3 separate regions of the Homo sapiens genome follow, and regions 1 and 3 are each linked to region 2. The links are contacts of gene promoters, found by promoter capture Hi-C in blood cells and fetal thymus (Javierre and others, 2016). All regions are on one chromosome and are shown on one strand. The core of a region is centred on a gene start or on the middle of the fragment in contact, and the rest is flanking DNA. Distances in the headings are between cores, read along the strand shown. Region 1 overlaps HIRA (histone cell cycle regulator). Region 2 holds the start of SLC25A1 (solute carrier family 25 member 1). Region 3 overlaps HIRA (histone cell cycle regulator).

What was found. Contacts are between HindIII fragments. The CHiCAGO score rates a contact against its expected background, and 5 or more counts as called.
Region 1: a fragment that was not itself captured here is called in contact with the fragment with the promoter of SLC25A1 in region 2 in 1 of 17 cell types (megakaryocytes); the score reaches 5.2 in megakaryocytes.
Region 3: a contact is called between a fragment that was not itself captured here and the fragment with the promoter of SLC25A1 in region 2, in 1 of 17 cell types (total B cells). The highest score is 5.3, in total B cells.

Annotation. Positions count from the first base shown.
Region 1 is chr22:19,411,314-19,414,013 of GRCh38, reverse strand. The region is part of intron 1 of HIRA (histone cell cycle regulator); the gene reads left to right. Among named protein-coding and RNA genes, the nearest start is that of HIRA, 19 kb to the left of the region's middle. The HindIII fragment of the contact is 3,879 bases long and covers 1-2,700 here.
Region 2 is chr22:19,177,302-19,180,001 of GRCh38, reverse strand. SLC25A1 (solute carrier family 25 member 1) reads left to right here and starts at 1,266. Exons shown (of 9, transcript NM_005984.5): 1 at 1,266-1,422; 2 at 1,762-1,869; 3 at 1,961-2,060; 4 at 2,137-2,275. The coding sequence starts at 1,329. It overlaps CLTCL1 (clathrin heavy chain like 1), which reads left to right. Exons shown (of 33, transcript NM_007098.4): 33 at 33-529. RefSeq lists silencers at 670-769, 970-2,049 and an enhancer at 1,221-1,968. The HindIII fragment of the contact is 6,402 bases long and covers 1-2,700 here.
Region 3 is chr22:19,361,390-19,364,089 of GRCh38, reverse strand. HIRA (histone cell cycle regulator) reads left to right here. Exons shown (of 25, transcript NM_003325.4): 16 at 2,159-2,363. Among named protein-coding and RNA genes, the nearest start is that of HIRA, 69 kb to the left of the region's middle. The HindIII fragment of the contact is 4,046 bases long and covers 1-2,700 here.

The sequences.
Region 1 (2,700 bases), core at 141-2,640, 230 kb before region 2:
ATCATGCTGTGCCACAGGAAGAGTTGTCTAACTAGCTCAGCCAGAAGGTCCCTTTCCTTAGCTCCACCTCAGAGAGCCCTTTAGAAGAGGTTCATTCCTGGCCGGGCACGGTGGCCGGGATTACCCCTGTAATCCCAGCACTTTGGGAGGCTGAGGTGGTCGGATCATGAGGTCAGGAGATCGAGACCATCCTGGCTAACATGGTGAAACCCTGTTTCTACTAAAAATACCAAAATTAGCTGGGCGTGGTAGCAGGCACCTGTAGTCCCAGCTATTCAGGAGGCTGAGGCAGGAGAATGGCGTGAACCTGGGAGACGGAGCTTGCAGTGAGTGGAGATCACGCCACTGCACTCTAGCCTGGGCGACAGAGCGAAACTCTGTCTATAAATAAATAAATAAATAAATAAATAAATAAATAGTTTCATTCCCACTAATGGAATGTGAGTGACTGCTTTCCTTGGGATGGAAAGGCCTAGTGCTGTAAGGAGGCGGGGAGCCAGCACTGCGCTGGTATCTGTGTAGGTCCCCTACCATATTTCATCTAATCTGCATAGCACTAGGAAAGGAAACCTGGTGCCAATGAACCAGGCACGCCTTCTCAAAATAATAAAAATAAAATAAAATAAAATCTCAAGGCTTTGTAGCTGGGTAAGTGGCAGGGCTAAAGATTCAGCCCATGATGTTTAATGCCAAAACCCAAACTTGTTGCCAGCCTCCATCCCTGCCTTCCCCTGGAGCCTTGAGGCCCCCACCCCCATTTTCCACACTGCTATTGTGGAGCCAGAATGTGAATCTGACCTTGGCATTACCCTGCCTTGAAAGTACCTTTAGAGAAATGTCTCAGCTCCTTACTGATGCTTGCTGAGCCATCTCTGTCTCCTCTTCTTTCTCACACTCTCTACCTGCAGTCTGCTCTGCAACATTACATCAGCCTATTTCTTGATTCCATGCCGTGCGTCCCCTCAGCCTGAAAACCCTCTCCTTCACCCGATCTTCTGGCTAACTCTTACTCAACCCTTGGGACCCAATTCAGTTATTATTTCTGCAGGAAGCCCGAGGCTGAGTCAGGTGGCTTTCTGCTTGTGAAGTGTCCATCAGTGGACATCTTACTAGGGGAGTTTGTATGATTATGTATCTTTACTTTCTCATTGCTTAGCCTAATGCCTGGCACATAGTAGAAATCTGCAAACAGAGACTGAGTGAGAAAACATGCAGTTGATGCTGTGAGTGGGCATGATCTAAAGCGCATGGGCTGTAATTGGTTACTTGTGCAGCTGAGCCCTCAGCACAGCCTGGCTCAGCCTGTACGTGCTCTTGGGTAGTCAGGGGAACTGTGACTTGCAGGTAAGGGTTTCTGGTGTGCTTCTTGAGGGGACTGATGTAATACAATGTCTCACAGACTTATGGAACTGAAAAGCACTCCAAGGGGAGGGGAATGTTCCGCCCTGATTGCCCGTCAAGACCAAAGCTGTCAGCTAGAACATTTTTTGTTAAAATGACAAATGCCCAGCTCAAGCTGGCTTAAGCAGAAAAGCAAATGAATTGGCATTTTGGTTTATCTCTTATATGACAAACCCCTAAATTTGCTGGCTTAAACCAATAACAGTTTTATTATTTGCTCATAATTCTGCAGCTTGTCAGGACTTAGCAGGTTCAGCTCATCTTGGCTCTATGGAATCTGCTGGGATGGCTCGAATAGCTTGGGGATAGAACACCTCACCAGGCCTGTGTCTGTGACCTTGATTCTCACTTGTCCGGGCTCTTTGATGCTCTACATGTGGCCAGCTTGGGCCTCTTCAAAACATGGTGGTCTCAGGGTACTTGGACTTCTCACATGACAACTAGGTTTCTCCAGAGAGCCAAAGTTGAACTGCTAGACTCTTAAGGCCTACACCTGGAACTGGAGCAACATTACTTCTGTCATTTCCCTTTGGTTAAAACGGGTCCCAGGTGTTTCAGATAAGGGATACTCAACCTATACTACATAGTGACCAGTAAGAAGGAAAGTGTATTTTATCTCAAGTTCATGCTTGATTTGACTACATGGCTGCGGCTCTCCACAGCTGGGTGCTGCCTGGGTCCCATGCTGGGCAGTGCCTTTTGGGCACCAGCATTTAATTTTCACACTTGCATGGGAGCCCTGGCAGGACTTCACAGTTCTCAGACAGCCACTGCCTGCCCACACACTCCTGATCCCAGTACTTGCTGAGTGATTCTAGGGCTGGTGACTCTGGTACTGTGTCCACATTGCCTCCTCTTGGGTGACAGAGACAGAACATGTTCAATTAAGAGACTCTTGGCAACAGCCCATCTATATCAGCAATTGTTGATGCTCAGATCATTGTCATGTATCTCCTTTGTCAATGAACAAATATTACTGCGCTACTGTACACTGGGTACTGTGCTAGAGGCTGAAGATGTGATGAACTCAACAGCAACTGACATGCCACTTGTAGCTCTTAAACCTTTGTCCTAGAAGCAGGGAGCTGGACAAATGCCCACCAGGCGTGAGTGCCTTCTATGGTCTGCTGGGTTTCAAGCTCCTACAGTGCTTTTGCCGGTCTGATCCACCCACCCAGCCAGCCAGCTAGCTTCATGGGATCCTAGTGCAAGCCTAGGCCCATACTGGGCTCTTTGGGGCTTCTAAGAACTAATAGCCACAGTCCTTTCTCCTGGAGGAATTGAACAGCTAATTTAACA
Region 2 (2,700 bases), core at 17-2,516:
GCTCTGCTCATTGTGGGCTTCCCCCTCTGCAGGCCCTGCCGTGGGCCCAGCCCCTGCCAGCTTCCCCTATGGATATGCCTCTGCTCCCAACTTCGCCAGCCTCCAATGTACAACTTCCGCGTGTAGTGGGCGTTGTCACCACCCACCCTACCTGCAGAGTTACTAACTTCTCCAAGGAGCATGTCACTCCAGCAGCACAGGGGACGCAATGGGAGGCAGGGACACCTGGACAATATTTATTTTTGCTGAAACCCAATGACGGCAACCTCTGAGCCATCCCAGAGCCTGGGGAGGCCAGGGTAGAGGCTGACGGCGCAAGACCAGCTTTAGCCGACAACAGAGACTGGACTGTGGGCCCTCCTGCTGGAGCCAGGCCTTCCTCCTGGGCGCCTCCGACTGGCTGGAGCTGCCCCCTCCAGGCCAGTTTGAAGACTACATGAACACGTCTTGTTTGGAGGTACCGGACCTCATAAAAGGACTCTCAGCCTCTTGGCAATCATAAATATTAAAGTCGGTTTATCCAGGCAAAGGTGCTCTGCTTGGTGCTGGTATGGGTAGGAGGGACGGGCCAGTTTCCTAGGCCCCGCAGTCCATTAAAGATTTGCTGGGTCCTCTTTGGGGTGTGGGACCTCCGTTGCCCAGACAAGCTGCCTAGGAGAATACAGCCGCTTGCATTTGTGGTCTTTCCTGACCTTGTTCGCTGAGCGCAGAAACTACAACCGGGAAAGGTGTGGGTGGGAACCGGCAGGTGAGGCCCGGCCCGTGGCTGCTGCGGGAGGGGGGCCCGGCGGCGTAGCCCCTTCTCACCGGCCTCCCGCCTCCCGCCTCCAGGTTTGAAACGTTAGAGTTCCTCTGGGACTGGGCTAGCCCCACGTGTTTTCGGGGAGGGTGTGCCCCTGGCCTCCGGGATCCCTGGGGATCCCGCCGCTCTCGACAGTCGCGCAGACCCGAGGCCCGCTATCCCGCGGCGCGGCACACAGTGCACCTTGACCCACTGCTCGGAGCTGGGCCACGGCTCCGCCTCCCGCAGCCCCGCCCCCGTCCCGCCGCTCGCGGTCGCCCAGGGACTCGGCCTCGGCCATTGGCTGCGCTTTGGCCCCGCCCCTACGCCTGCCTCGGCGCGCCCCGCCCAGGCCTCAGTTTCCCGGCCCGCACGGGGCGGGCTGGGGGCGGGGCCTGGCTCGGACCACGCGGGGCGGGACCTGGAGCTGACGCGGCCGCCCCGCCCCTGGGACCATAACCGGCCGCCGCCGCCACCGCGGACCGAGCGCGGAGTTCTGGAGTCTCGGACCCGAAGCCGCCACAGGGCGCCCCGCCTCCCGCCCGCCATGCCCGCGCCCCGCGCCCCGCGCGCTCTGGCGGCCGCCGCGCCCGCGTCCGGGAAGGCCAAGCTGACGCACCCGGGGAAGGCGATCCTGGCAGGTGGGCCCCTCCGGGACGCGGACCCCTCTCCCGCCGCGCTTCTGGGTGGGCCCGGGACGCTGAGGCCCCGCCCCACTTCCGGGTTGGGCCGTGGGCTGGGGAGTCGTGGAGGCGCGGTCCTGGTCCCCACCCGGCGCGCTGGGACTCGCCCGCCTCCCGTCTGTCACCCCCTGCGCCTCGCCGGGACAACGGGGTGAGGGCATGGGGGCGTGGGGCCCCAGCCTATGTTCCCCGCGGCACTGGCGCGGCGGCCGCGCCGACCGAAGTCCGGGACGGGGGAGGGGCCCGAGCGCCAGCGGCCGGGCGGGAGTCTCAGGAGCGGGTTCCCGGTCCCTGCAGGCGGCCTGGCGGGTGGCATCGAGATCTGCATCACCTTCCCCACCGAGTACGTGAAGACGCAGCTGCAGCTGGACGAGCGCTCGCACCCGCCGCGGTACCGGGGCATCGGTGAGGAGGGGGAGGCCGCGGCGCCGCGGGGGGCGGGTACCCAGGGCGGCGGCACCGAGGGCCGTGGGGTCCTGACCGCCCCCTCCCCCAGGGGACTGCGTGCGGCAGACGGTTCGCAGCCATGGCGTCCTGGGCCTGTACCGCGGCCTTAGCTCCCTGCTCTACGGTTCCATCCCCAAGGCGGCCGTCAGGTGAGGCCCGGCCGGTGGCTGCTGCGGGAGGGGGGCTCGGCCGCGGCAGCCCCTCTCACCCGCCTCCCGCCTCCAGGTTTGGAATGTTCGAGTTCCTCAGCAACCACATGCGGGATGCCCAGGGACGGCTGGACAGCACGCGTGGGCTGCTGTGCGGCCTGGGCGCTGGCGTGGCCGAGGCCGTGGTGGTCGTGTGCCCCATGGAGACCATCAAGGTGGGGAAGGTCCTGGCGAGGACCCCGGACACGCAGGGAGTACGGAGACGGGCGGCCCCGCTGGCCCGGTGCTCCCGGGGCAACCGGCAAGCTGGGGAGGGTCTCCTGGACGCCAGGGAAGGCCGGCGGGGTGACCGCGGGGCCCTGGGGCAGGACGCCTGCCACGAAGGGCCACCCGTGGAGGCTGAGTCTATGCTAAAGGCAGCCTTAAAGTCTTTAAAAAATACTTTTATAAAGCAGAAAACAAAATGACACCTTCACTGCCAAAACTGGAAAAGAGCAGCAAACATAAAGGGAGAGGCTGCTCACAGGGCTGCCCTGTGTCCCAGAGCATGGTCCGTGTGGGCTGCCCTGTGTCCCGGGGCATGGTCCGTGTGGGCAGCCCAGGGCGGCCTTGGCTGCACTGCTTCCTGGGGAAGAGTTCC
Region 3 (2,700 bases), core at 44-2,543, 180 kb before region 2:
GCCCGCCTCCCCAACATACCCATAGCATCCCCCACTTTCAGCATCCCCCACCAGAGTGGGGCACACCGTCACCCAAAGTTTACATTTGGGTCTACTCTTGATGTTGTACGTTTTACGGGTTTAACCAATGTATAATGACATATATTCATCATTATATATCTTACAGAATAGTTTTTTGGGTTTTTTCGAGACAGAGTCTCGCTCTATTGCCCAGGCTGGAGTGCGGTGGCACAGTCGCATCTCGGCTCACTGCAACCTCCGCCTCCCAGGTTCAAGCAATTCTCCTACCTCAGCCTCCCAGGTAGCTGGGATTACATGTGTATGCCACCACACGTGGCTAATTTTTGTATTTTTAGTAGAGATGGGGTCTCACCATGTTGGCCAGGCCAGTCTCAAACTCCTGACCTCAAGTGATCTGCCCACCTTGGCCTCCCAAAGTGTAGGAATTACAGGAAAGAGCCACCACACCCAGCCAGAATAGTTTCAATGCCTTAAAAATTCTGTGCTTCATATAGTTACCTTCCTTTCCCCAACCCCTGGAAACCACTGATCTTTTTATTGTCTCCATGGTTTTGCCTGTTCCAGGTTGTCATATAGTTAGAATCACCCCTTTTCTTGTATTTATTTATTTACTTATTTTTTGTTCTTAGAGATGGGGTCTCATTATTTTGCCCAGGCTGCTCTCAAGCCTCTGGGCTCGAGCAGTCCTCCTGCCTCAGCCTACCAAGTAGCTGGGACTACAGGCATGAGCCACTGTGTCCACCTACTATTAATCTGTCTTTGTCTTTTGTAGTTAAAATTAAATTTTTAAAAACATAAACCCATTTCTTTTTTTTGTTTTTTTTGTTTTTTTTTTTGAGACGGAATCTCACTTTGTCACCAGGCTGGAGTGCAGTGGCACGATCTTGACTCCCTGCAACCTCTGCCTCCTGGGTTCAAGCAATTGCCCTGCCTCAGCCTGCCGAGTAGCTGGGACTACAGGCACACGCCACCACACCCGGCTAATTTTTTGTATTTTAGTAGAGACAGGGTTTCACCGTGTTGGCCAGGACGGTCTCAATCTCCTGACCTCAGGTGATTCACCCACCTCAGCCTCCCAAAGTGCTGGGATTACAGGCGTGAGCCACCGTGCCCGGCCTTATTCTTTTTTTTTAATCTTCACTTCTTTTTATCTTCTTTTTCTGCCTTCTCTGGTTTTAGCTGAGTATTTTATATGATTCAGTTTTCTCAGCCAGGCATGGTGGCTCACGACCATAATCCCAACACTTTGGGAGGCTGAGGCGGGTAGGTCACCTGAGGTCAGGAGTTCAAGACTGGCCTGGCCAACATGATGAAACCCTGTCTCTACTAATAATACAAAAATTAACCAGGCGTGGTGGCACACACCTGTAATCCCAGCTACTTGGGAGACTGAGGCAGGAGAATCACTTGACCCCAGTAGGTGGATGTTGCAGTGAGCCAAGATCACACCATTGCATTCCAGGCTGGGCGAGAAGAGTGAAAATCCATCTCCAAAAAAAAAATGATAATAAAATAAAAATAAATTTTCTCTCCTCTCAGCATTATTAATTATGCTTTAAAAAATTTTTTTTAGTGATTGCTCTAGAGTTTACAATAAACATTTATAACCTAACTCTACTTTCAAATAATATTATACCACTTCATGGGTAGTAGAAAGAGTTCCCCACTCTTTCCTTCCATGCCCTATGACATTGGTACCACTTATTTCACTCATTCATAAACTATAGTAATTCAAGACATGGTGGCTGTTATTTGTTTGAACAGAAAGTTGTCTCTCAGATCAGTTGGGAATATGAAATACAAAAGATTCTATTTTATGTTCATTGTTTTTTTTCTCTAACATCACTCTTCCTTTCTTCATGCAGATGTGAGTTTCTGGCCTGCATCATTTATCTTCTCTCTGAAAGACTTTTAACATTTCTTGCAAGGCAGGTCTTCTGGCAACAGATTCCGGTGTCTCTTTGTTTATTTTTGTCTGACAAAGTCATTATTTCTCCTTTACTTTTGAGGCATAATTTCACTGGACACAGAATTCTAGGTTGGCAAGAGGTTTGTTTAAGCACTTTAAATATTTCACTTCACTCTTTCTTGCATGAATGGTTTCTGAAGGGAAGTGTGATGTAATGTTTTTGTGCAGGTTAAAAGAGCAGAACCTTGTGAAAGAGCTGAGGCCCCGAGACCTCCTGGAGAGCAGCAGTGACAGCGATGAGAAAGTCCCTTTGGCTAAGGCTTCCTCACTGTCCAAGCGAAAACTTGAGCTTGAGGTAGAGACAGTAGAGAAGAAGAAGAAAGGGCGGCCTCGGAAGGACTCTCGTCTCATGCCTGTGTCTCTGTCTGTCCAGGTGAGGCCAGTGGGCCCATCCTGCCTTCTTTAGCCCACCTTTCTGTACTTAGAGCTTGAAGGCCCTGTGTGCATGGTAAGCCTCAGCTGGGTGGGTCACCTTGGGAACCAGCTGGCTTAGACATGCAGCCCCTGGAATGTAGCATGGAGGCCACGCTCTCCCTCAGATGTGCCCTTGACTCACCCAGGGCCCTTGAGCAGGTTCCCTGGCATCAACTGGCTTGTCCATGAGGTTAGGATCCTTGTAGCATTCCCCTCTGCTTCCTCCCTCCCAGGGTGGAAATGCTCTGGTCGCAGGCTCAGCCTCACTTCTGGGTGACCTGCCTTTACCAAATGCT